3 separate regions of the Homo sapiens genome follow, and regions 2 and 3 are each linked to region 1. The links are contacts of gene promoters, found by promoter capture Hi-C in blood cells and fetal thymus (Javierre and others, 2016). All regions are on one chromosome and are shown on one strand. The core of a region is centred on a gene start or on the middle of the fragment in contact, and the rest is flanking DNA. Distances in the headings are between cores, read along the strand shown.

What was found. Contacts are between HindIII fragments. The CHiCAGO score rates a contact against its expected background, and 5 or more counts as called.
Region 2: a contact is called between a fragment that was not itself captured here and the fragment with the promoter of INSL6 in region 1, in 1 of 17 cell types (activated CD4 T cells). The highest score is 5.6, in activated CD4 T cells.
Region 3: a fragment that was not itself captured here is called in contact with the fragment with the promoter of INSL6 in region 1 in 1 of 17 cell types (naive CD8 T cells); the score reaches 5.3 in naive CD8 T cells.

Annotation. Positions count from the first base shown.
Region 1 is chr9:5,184,272-5,186,971 of GRCh38, reverse strand. INSL6 (insulin like 6) reads left to right here and starts at 1,333. Exons shown (of 2, transcript NM_007179.3): 1 at 1,333-1,658. The coding sequence starts at 1,370. The HindIII fragment of the contact is 2,408 bases long and covers 951-2,700 here.
Region 2 is chr9:5,468,129-5,470,828 of GRCh38, reverse strand. CD274 (CD274 molecule) reads right to left here. Exons shown (of 7, transcript NM_014143.4): 7 at 275-2,700. The region is part of intron 2 of INCR1 (interferon stimulated noncoding RNA 1); the gene reads left to right. Among named protein-coding and RNA genes, the nearest start is that of CD274, 19 kb to the right of the region's middle. The HindIII fragment of the contact is 4,382 bases long and covers 1-2,700 here.
Region 3 is chr9:5,486,659-5,489,358 of GRCh38, reverse strand. The region is part of intron 2 of INCR1 (interferon stimulated noncoding RNA 1); the gene reads left to right. Among named protein-coding and RNA genes, the nearest start is that of PDCD1LG2, 23 kb to the left of the region's middle. The HindIII fragment of the contact is 2,434 bases long and covers 119-2,552 here.

The DNA of each region.
Region 1 (2,700 bases), core at 84-2,583:
AATATTTTCCGTTCTCAAAAACCTTACCTGATAAAGTTCTGACTAGGACTCATGGCCCACTATAGTTTGGACATAAGTTATTTTTTAAGGAAGGTGATTAAATTTTACTAATCTATATTATATCAACCATTTAAAAAATCCAATTGGCAGTTAATTTAACAGCATTCATGGATGCCACTGGGAAGCAGGGAAAAGATAGGGAAACGGAAAATTAAGAAAAAGACATAGAGTCAGAAGACAGAAAAGAAAGGGAGAAAAAAATAAAATTGTATAGGGAAATGGTGAGATCACTGATAAGCTTGCACCTGTGGCTTCAGCATCCTGAACCTTATTCCTGAGACAGCCACCGAATGCCCTCTTGTGGCCGATAGTACATCCTTCCACGCCAACACACTAGTAACACAGAACTTCATTTAAAATGATAAAGCTACCTATGCCGATTGCGCTTCGCTTCCCTGCCCCTTCCCTCCTAACTGAGCAAAATTATCTCACCTAAATGAGCATTTCATGCTGCATGCTGTTATTCTTACAAGGCAAATCCTCTAGGGGTCCCTGTCACAAGTTAATTTGGTAATACACAATCCTCTACATTATCTAACCGAAAGAACCAGATTTCCATCCCAGGTACCTCAAGACAGCGTCCCTACTTCTTTTTTCTGGAGATTGAGGCTAAGGCCCATGCCTCCCTGTGAACCAGTAGGATTTTTCTGAAGAAGCTTTGAACCTGACTAAACGCACATGGCCATATGCAACACTTAAACGTTTCACCACATATTTGATTGCCAGCTAAATGCCAGATCCCGGGGTACGATGGAAAGCAAGAACAGACGCAGGCCCTTGCCTTCATGAAGCGGGGGTCTCAGGAAAGAGGTTACACGCCCACAAATGGAAACAGGTCGATTAACACCGTGAAAGAGATGACAGGGGGTTTCTGTGAGGGAGACGAAGCTTTATTAACAACCTGGCAAACAAGAACGAGAAACGCATTCCAGGTGGAGGGAGCAACACTTTTTAACCTACGTTATCAGGTAACAGGGATCCTATGTTCTCACGCTTGGTGAGGAATCTCCCATTGAGGAAGGAAAGAAAAATGAATCAAACTAGGGGGTGGCGGGGTAGTGAGGGGATTTTTGGCTTTCATTTTAGGAGCCAGGGCCTGCTACCTTCGACCACCTGAGACCCCTGAGCTGGCGGGAAAGCCTTGACGCAGCCGGCGCGCGCCTTCCCTTGAAGTTCTGGCGACGCCCCCACGCGCTCGGAATTCCGCAGTGTTTGTGCGCGCCGCTCGGCCTGGCGCAGGCGCAGACAGGGAGCAGGGTCCGGCCGACCGCCATTGCACAACGCGGAGGACTAGCCTGGGGTCACAGGGATGCCGCGGCTCCTCCGCTTGTCCCTGCTGTGGCTTGGACTCCTGCTGGTTCGGTTTTCTCGTGAACTGAGCGACATCAGCAGTGCCAGGAAGCTGTGCGGCAGGTACTTGGTGAAAGAAATAGAAAAACTCTGCGGCCATGCCAACTGGAGCCAGTTCCGTTTCGAGGAGGAAACCCCTTTCTCACGGTTGATTGCACAGGCCTCGGAGAAGGTCGAAGCCTACAGCCCATACCAGTTCGAAAGCCCGCAAACCGCTTCCCCGGCCCGGGGAAGAGGCACAAACCCAGGTAAAAATCGAAACCGAAGGCATGTTTGTTCACCTCTGTATATTTCTTATTCCTGCATTTGCTCTGCCAGAAGGTGAGCTTCCCCAGGAAGTGGAATTTGTGCCTAGTACACAGCTCTTTAAAAAATTGTAAAAAACAGTGTATTGAAAATATACAAAACTTCAATGAAGCGCTTTTTTTTTTAACTTGGAGGAAATAAATGTACACTTGTAAGTCTACATATTTATGTAAGAATGTTGTTCTTTTCTGGAGTGCCAGTCATCTGGCAAACTCCTTTTTGTCCTTCAAAGCCCAACTTAAGTATCATTTTCCCTGTGAAGTCATCATTGACCTTTTCATGGCCAATGGCTCCATTGTCCTTTCTACCACAGTATCTAGCACATAGTTGTATTTGACTGTCGTCATTGGCTACAGAATCAGCCCAACCTTGTAGAAGATAAAAATGCAGAGTACCTTGTTCAAAAAAGCAGGAAAGGGCCATGAAAATAAAGGTAGTAAAATATAAAACTGTTTTCCTTACTTGTCCATATCCCCTGGTCACGTACCAGGAGATAGGCCTGGTCCGTTCTCCTATCAGGCTTCATTTAAGAGTTTACGTACTTGTATTTCATTCACTTAAAGTTTCAAAGGTAAATTTATTCAGAACAACAAAGGAACATTTAAACCAAATGCAAGGCCTGTGTGACTACATAGGTTTCAGTCCCATAAAGTCAGCCCTATATACCATACTGTATTATAGGGACTATTTCATGCATATTTTTGTCTGAAATGCTTAGCAGATGGCCTAGCACATCGCATGTGTTTAATATGCGCTGAATTTATACTTGATGCTTTCAAGCAGTCTGCAGGAAGGATATTCTTGTTCCAGATTCATTGGTATATCTTACTATGTTTTTACATTTTGTGACTAAGACATTTTAGTCCCAGTATGATTTGTCATTTTAAAAGAAATTGCACTTTGTTTATAGTGTATCCATAGGAAGAAGATTACTGCCTTTTACAGTAATTCAGTTGATTTGATTTGGACAAATCTTGTAAAAGT
Region 2 (2,700 bases), core at 65-2,564, 280 kb before region 1:
AGTTCTATTGGGTTCCACTCCTTCTCTCCCACCCTCTCTCCCTTAGATCTTCAATGTAGATGACAGGATTTTGACTCTTCTTGGTATGGTCCTAAAGGAAGCTGCCGAATGAGAGAGAATGAAAATTTTCAATACATTCTTTTTTAAAATAAAATCTTTTGATACTTTTTTCATTGTGCAGGATTCAAAAGCATGCTGTATAAAAACATGCTGTATAAGCAATGAAAAAAGAACTAGGAACAAGGCTGCAAATATTCCAAGTAACTTTCTCCACTGGGATGTTAAACTGAACATTTTATTAAACACAAAATAAACAAGAAAATGGACATGCTGGTGTACCAAGTAACAAAATAAATAAGAATATTTTATTAAATTAATGCAGGTACAAAAAGTGACAATCAAATGCAGAATTAGGTATCATCTCTGCCTATGCCATTTACGATGAAACATGAGACAAAAGGGATAAAGTGCCTTACAAATCCAACACCACAAGGAGGAGTTAGGACTTAGGAATAGACTGAGTAGACTATGTGCCTTGCTCAGCCACAATTCTTGCCTGTAATTCACACAAAGAACACTGTCACACCAATTACTGTACAAATGCACATGTACAAACAGATAACACAAGGAGCTCTGTTGGAGACACTGTTTCTTCAGCCTTGACATGTGGCAAAGCCAAGGTACTCCTTGTCATTGACACCAGAATATGGCCAAGAGGGAAAGGAAACTCTGGGATCTCCCAGGGCATCTGAATCTCGAAACCTCCAGGAAGCCTCTTAGGAGGGCTGTGTAGTGATGACAGCTGGTGGCATTCAAGGGTTCAAGCACAACGAATGAGGCTTTTCTGGCACAGGGTAGCTAGCAGTCAAGGTACACTGCCGGAATTTCCAGAAAGAAAATGTGATTTTGCAAGTACAGCATCAAAGTGAAGTTTATACTTGACAGAAAGCAGAAAACAAAAGTTCCAGACATGATTCTGTCATACAGAGTTAATAATAAGATTGCTTTTTAGGACTAGATTGACTCAGTGCACCCTGGAGAGCCCATGGGTCTCCTTTTGAGCAAACATAAACAAATCCAAACTCTGTCCTAGAGCAAATACTTAACAAATGGTGGTTGTCTAAATGTATATGTAGGACATATTTAACATATACTGGATCATATGAAAGATAATGAAAAGCTATGGGAAAGATAACTTAGAAACAAAGAAGGCATGGATCCTCAGCCCTGGGAACTTCAAATTCATTCCATCTGCTATATAAGAAACACTAAAATAAATAAAAATAGCAAAGTACACAGCAGACATACAATGTGTTACTATTTAGGAAAAAAATTTTAAAAATACGTGCTTTTAACATACATTTCCAAATGTAGACTATCTTTAGAAGAACATATGAATGAAAGGCAGTAGCAGTTGCTTCTGGAAAGGAAACTTGAATGGCTTGGAGGATGAAGTGGAGATTTTCCAACCATCTCCCATGGGATCTTTTGAATTTTGAATCATGGAAAGGTATGAATTTAAAATTTAGTGGCATTTAAATAGAAAAGACAGAACTGTTAAACAATACCAGACACTATATAAACAAGCATTAGATTATATGGCAAAGGCAAATCAGGAATAAATATAATGCTAGAAAAGGAATTCCAGTGTTATTTTTCAGGGTTATTTTAAGTACCGACCTCTCTTTGTAAATGAAAATTACTCTGATTATTAAGATGTTTAAGTATATCCAACCGTCCCAGACCACATTGGCCTATTTCCTCCTCTTGGCAACACTGCTCGGGTTTTCCCCTCGCATCATCCTTATGCTATGACACTGGACTAAATTGTAATAATACATTTTCTTGTTAATCTCCTCATTATACTATGAGCTCCTTGAGGACAGGTACTTTGTCTTGCTCACATCTGTAGATTCAATGCCTGGCACAGCGATTGATATTGCAAGGGCACTTAATAAATGGTTTTTGAATAAAAGAATTGCTTAAAGTAAAATATAGCTGTAAATTGTATTATAAAAGGACAGTGGGTGGCAGTCTGAGGTCTGCTATTTACTGGTTTGGGCAAGTTACTTAATCTGTTTGCTTCCTCAGCTGTACGATGGGTAAAATAATAGTGGTTATCACAACAGGGTGGTTACAGCGATGAAATGAGATTATGTGTGTAGGCTACCACATAATTGTAAAGCTGATATTTAAATGGAACAGATACTGCACAGACACTTGAGGTCTGAGAATAAGATTAGGTCAACCAGAGTATTAATGGGTTAAATAAAGGTGACATCCTATGCAACCAACGGTTTGATCTTTATGCTTCCAATGTATACTTGTAGTTATAGAGGAGACCAAGCACCTTACAAATACTCCATGTTTTACTAGATGTGAGCAAATCATTAAGCAGCAAGTTTAGTTTGGCGACAAAATTGTAACATCTACTACAATATATCTTCAAAAGAAATCATTCACAACCACACTCACATGACAAGAAGACCTCACAGACTCAAAATAAATAGGAAAAACTCATACATAAATACTGTCCCGTTCCAACACTGAGACTCTCAGTCATGCAGAAAACAAATTGAGGCATTGAGTGGAGGCAAAGGGCACTTCTGCAGGAACTGACCCTCAAATTAGGGATTCTCAACCCGTCTTCCTAGGATGAGCAATGGATGATTTGCTTGGAGGCTCCTTGTTCAGAAGTAT
Region 3 (2,700 bases), core at 86-2,585, 300 kb before region 1:
GAGAGTTAAATAGAGCCCCACCTGGCCTGGGATTGAGAACTAGAAAGATATCTTTAGGGACAGAACAATTGGTGATTTTAGTTGGGGGATTTGTGATGTTATCCAGCAGAGACAAGCTTTGCATTAAAAGTAGGATGTATGTGGGCATCTTTGCTTTTCTTCTTTGTCGACTCTAGTTCCTGTACCTCGCTGTTTCTTCTGTCCTTTCTTCATAGGCTACAGCTGCTTTATATCTAATAAACATACACACTATTAATCTCTCCTGAGTGTGCACATTCTGTGTGTGTGTGTGTTGATGTATGGTACATATGTAATTTGTCTCCATCAATTATGAACTTCCTGAAAATGTTATTAATTCATCTGACTTAATAAACATTTTACTTCACGCAATGTGTATCCAAGGTCATGAAATTATGACCTCACTGCTCAAGAAAACAGGAAAACAGTTGCGCTGAATGAGGTACCTAAAGCTGCCAGGGGCCCAGGCAAGAGGCCTGAGTAATGATGTGATGTACTAAGAATGAAGAGACAAGGATATCCGGGAAACTGACCAAAGAGTAGGCAGAGTCAGCGAGCTATTGTGCAGTGGACAAGAAGGAGATTGGCACTGCTGTAAGGGCTGGTCTGGAGATGAGGCACAGTGCATTTCAATTATGGATACCACAGCGAGGATATTCATTCCCTATCCACACCCACACTGGGCAGTCAACATTCCTCTTCTAGCAAGAGATTTTAAAGATGATCATGGTACTTCAACTAGATACTAGCTCACTTACAAAACACATTTGCTGCATATTCTTTTCAATAGCTTCATGTGTTTGTGTATGTGTGTGTGCATGAACATGCGTGTATTTGTAGTTATTCATTTCCAGTAACATCTTGACATTCAAACCAGAGCATTCTCATAACTGTCCTGACTTTTGAGGAAGCAGCCTCCTGTCTCACTTCACCATCTCCACATTCACTCCTCGGTTCCCTAATAGCAACTCCTCTACCCTTCCTAGCCACCCAACTTGAGGCTTTCCTGACTCCGTTCACGAAATTTCCCATTGCTTCCCTTTCACATAGTTTAGGAAAAATATCAAAGAGATACTTCTTTCTGAGCTCCATGACCTACATTCATCAATATTTCTTAGTAACAATTTAGATTTTCTAGATCCACTTTCTCTAAAAGTCCCAACTGCCCTCACAACTTAATCTTTGAATCAACCTACCCAGAAATACCAACACTCTACAATAAAGACATTTCTTCTTTCCATGCAATATAATGAAATCAGTTTTGAAACCAAGAAAGAATCCATATTCTAGGATTCTAGGACTATCCAGGATGTTTAGAAAGGATTTAAGGCTGTTTACAAGGGCTGTTAGATACAGCATACAGCATACAGCATACAGCATACGGTATACATAACATACAGTAAAAAAGCTCAGGAAAGTGGCGCTAGAAAGGGAGGGAAATAAGAAGAGGTCAGAATCACTGTCGCCTCCTCTCCCCGGGCACAAGTCAGGAAGGCATGCTTACTGTCAGGATCTGCGGGCTTGACATGCTTGTATTACCATCACATTTCCCAGGCTTACGACACCCATCACCTGGCTGTCCTCCTGCTTCCATGTCCTTTTAGTTCTTCCTCCACACTGCAGCCCAAATGATCTCATAACACAAGCTGGATCAATCATTTCCCCCTACTTAAAACTTGCAACTGACCGGGCACGGTGGCTCACGCCTGTAATCCCAGCACTTTGGGAGGCCGAGGCGGGTGGATCACAAGGTCAAGAGATCGAAACCATCCTGGCCAGCATGGTGAAACCCCATCTCTACTAAAAATACAAAAATTAGCTGGGCGTGGTGGAGTGCACCTGGAGTGCCAGCCACTTGGGAGGCTGAGGCAGGAGAATCGCTTGAACTCGAGGGGCAGATGTTGCAGTGAGCCGAGATTGCACCACTACACTCCAGCCTGGTGACAGAGCGAGACTCTGTCTCAAAACAAAAACAAAAACAAACAAACAAAAACTTGCAACCACTTCCCACCGCATTTAGAACAGAATTTGGACTCTTCACCATGGCTGTCACGGGCCTGCGTGATGCACAGTCTCATCTTGTGCCCCTCCCTGCTCTGCTCTCCACTCTCTAGTCACCCTGGCCTCCTTTCTAGCCCTTGAACTCCTTAACTCAATCTCTCATCAAAGCTCCTGTGCACATTGTGCCTCCTGCTGGGGGTACGCCCTTTTGTATGGCTGGCTCGGTTTAAATTCAACCTTTTTGAAGAAGCCCCTGTCCCAGCCATCCCATTTAAAATTGGTTCCCAATTTGGCAATTATTTAGCTTGGTCCCTTATTGATTGGTATTGCTGCATTTATATAGTCATTTGTTTATTCGTTATATGTTTCCACACATCCACTTCCTTGACCCCTTATTAGAATGTGAATTCCATGAGGGCAAGAACCATGTCTGTCTTGTTCCCTCTTGAATCCTCAGTGTCTAGCTTGAAGTTTGACATGTAGTAAATGCTCAGTAAATTAGTTGAGTGAAAGAATAAAATTGATTCTAAGCTTTCTAAGCCAAGCTTGGACAGTTAAACAATTAATAATATTTCCAAGATTTGGGGAGCAGGGGCAAAGCTAAGCAACTTTTCACTCGGGGAAACACAACTATTTTGTGTTTGTGTGTTTGTATTAAGGTCAAAGGGAAATTTTTCCTAG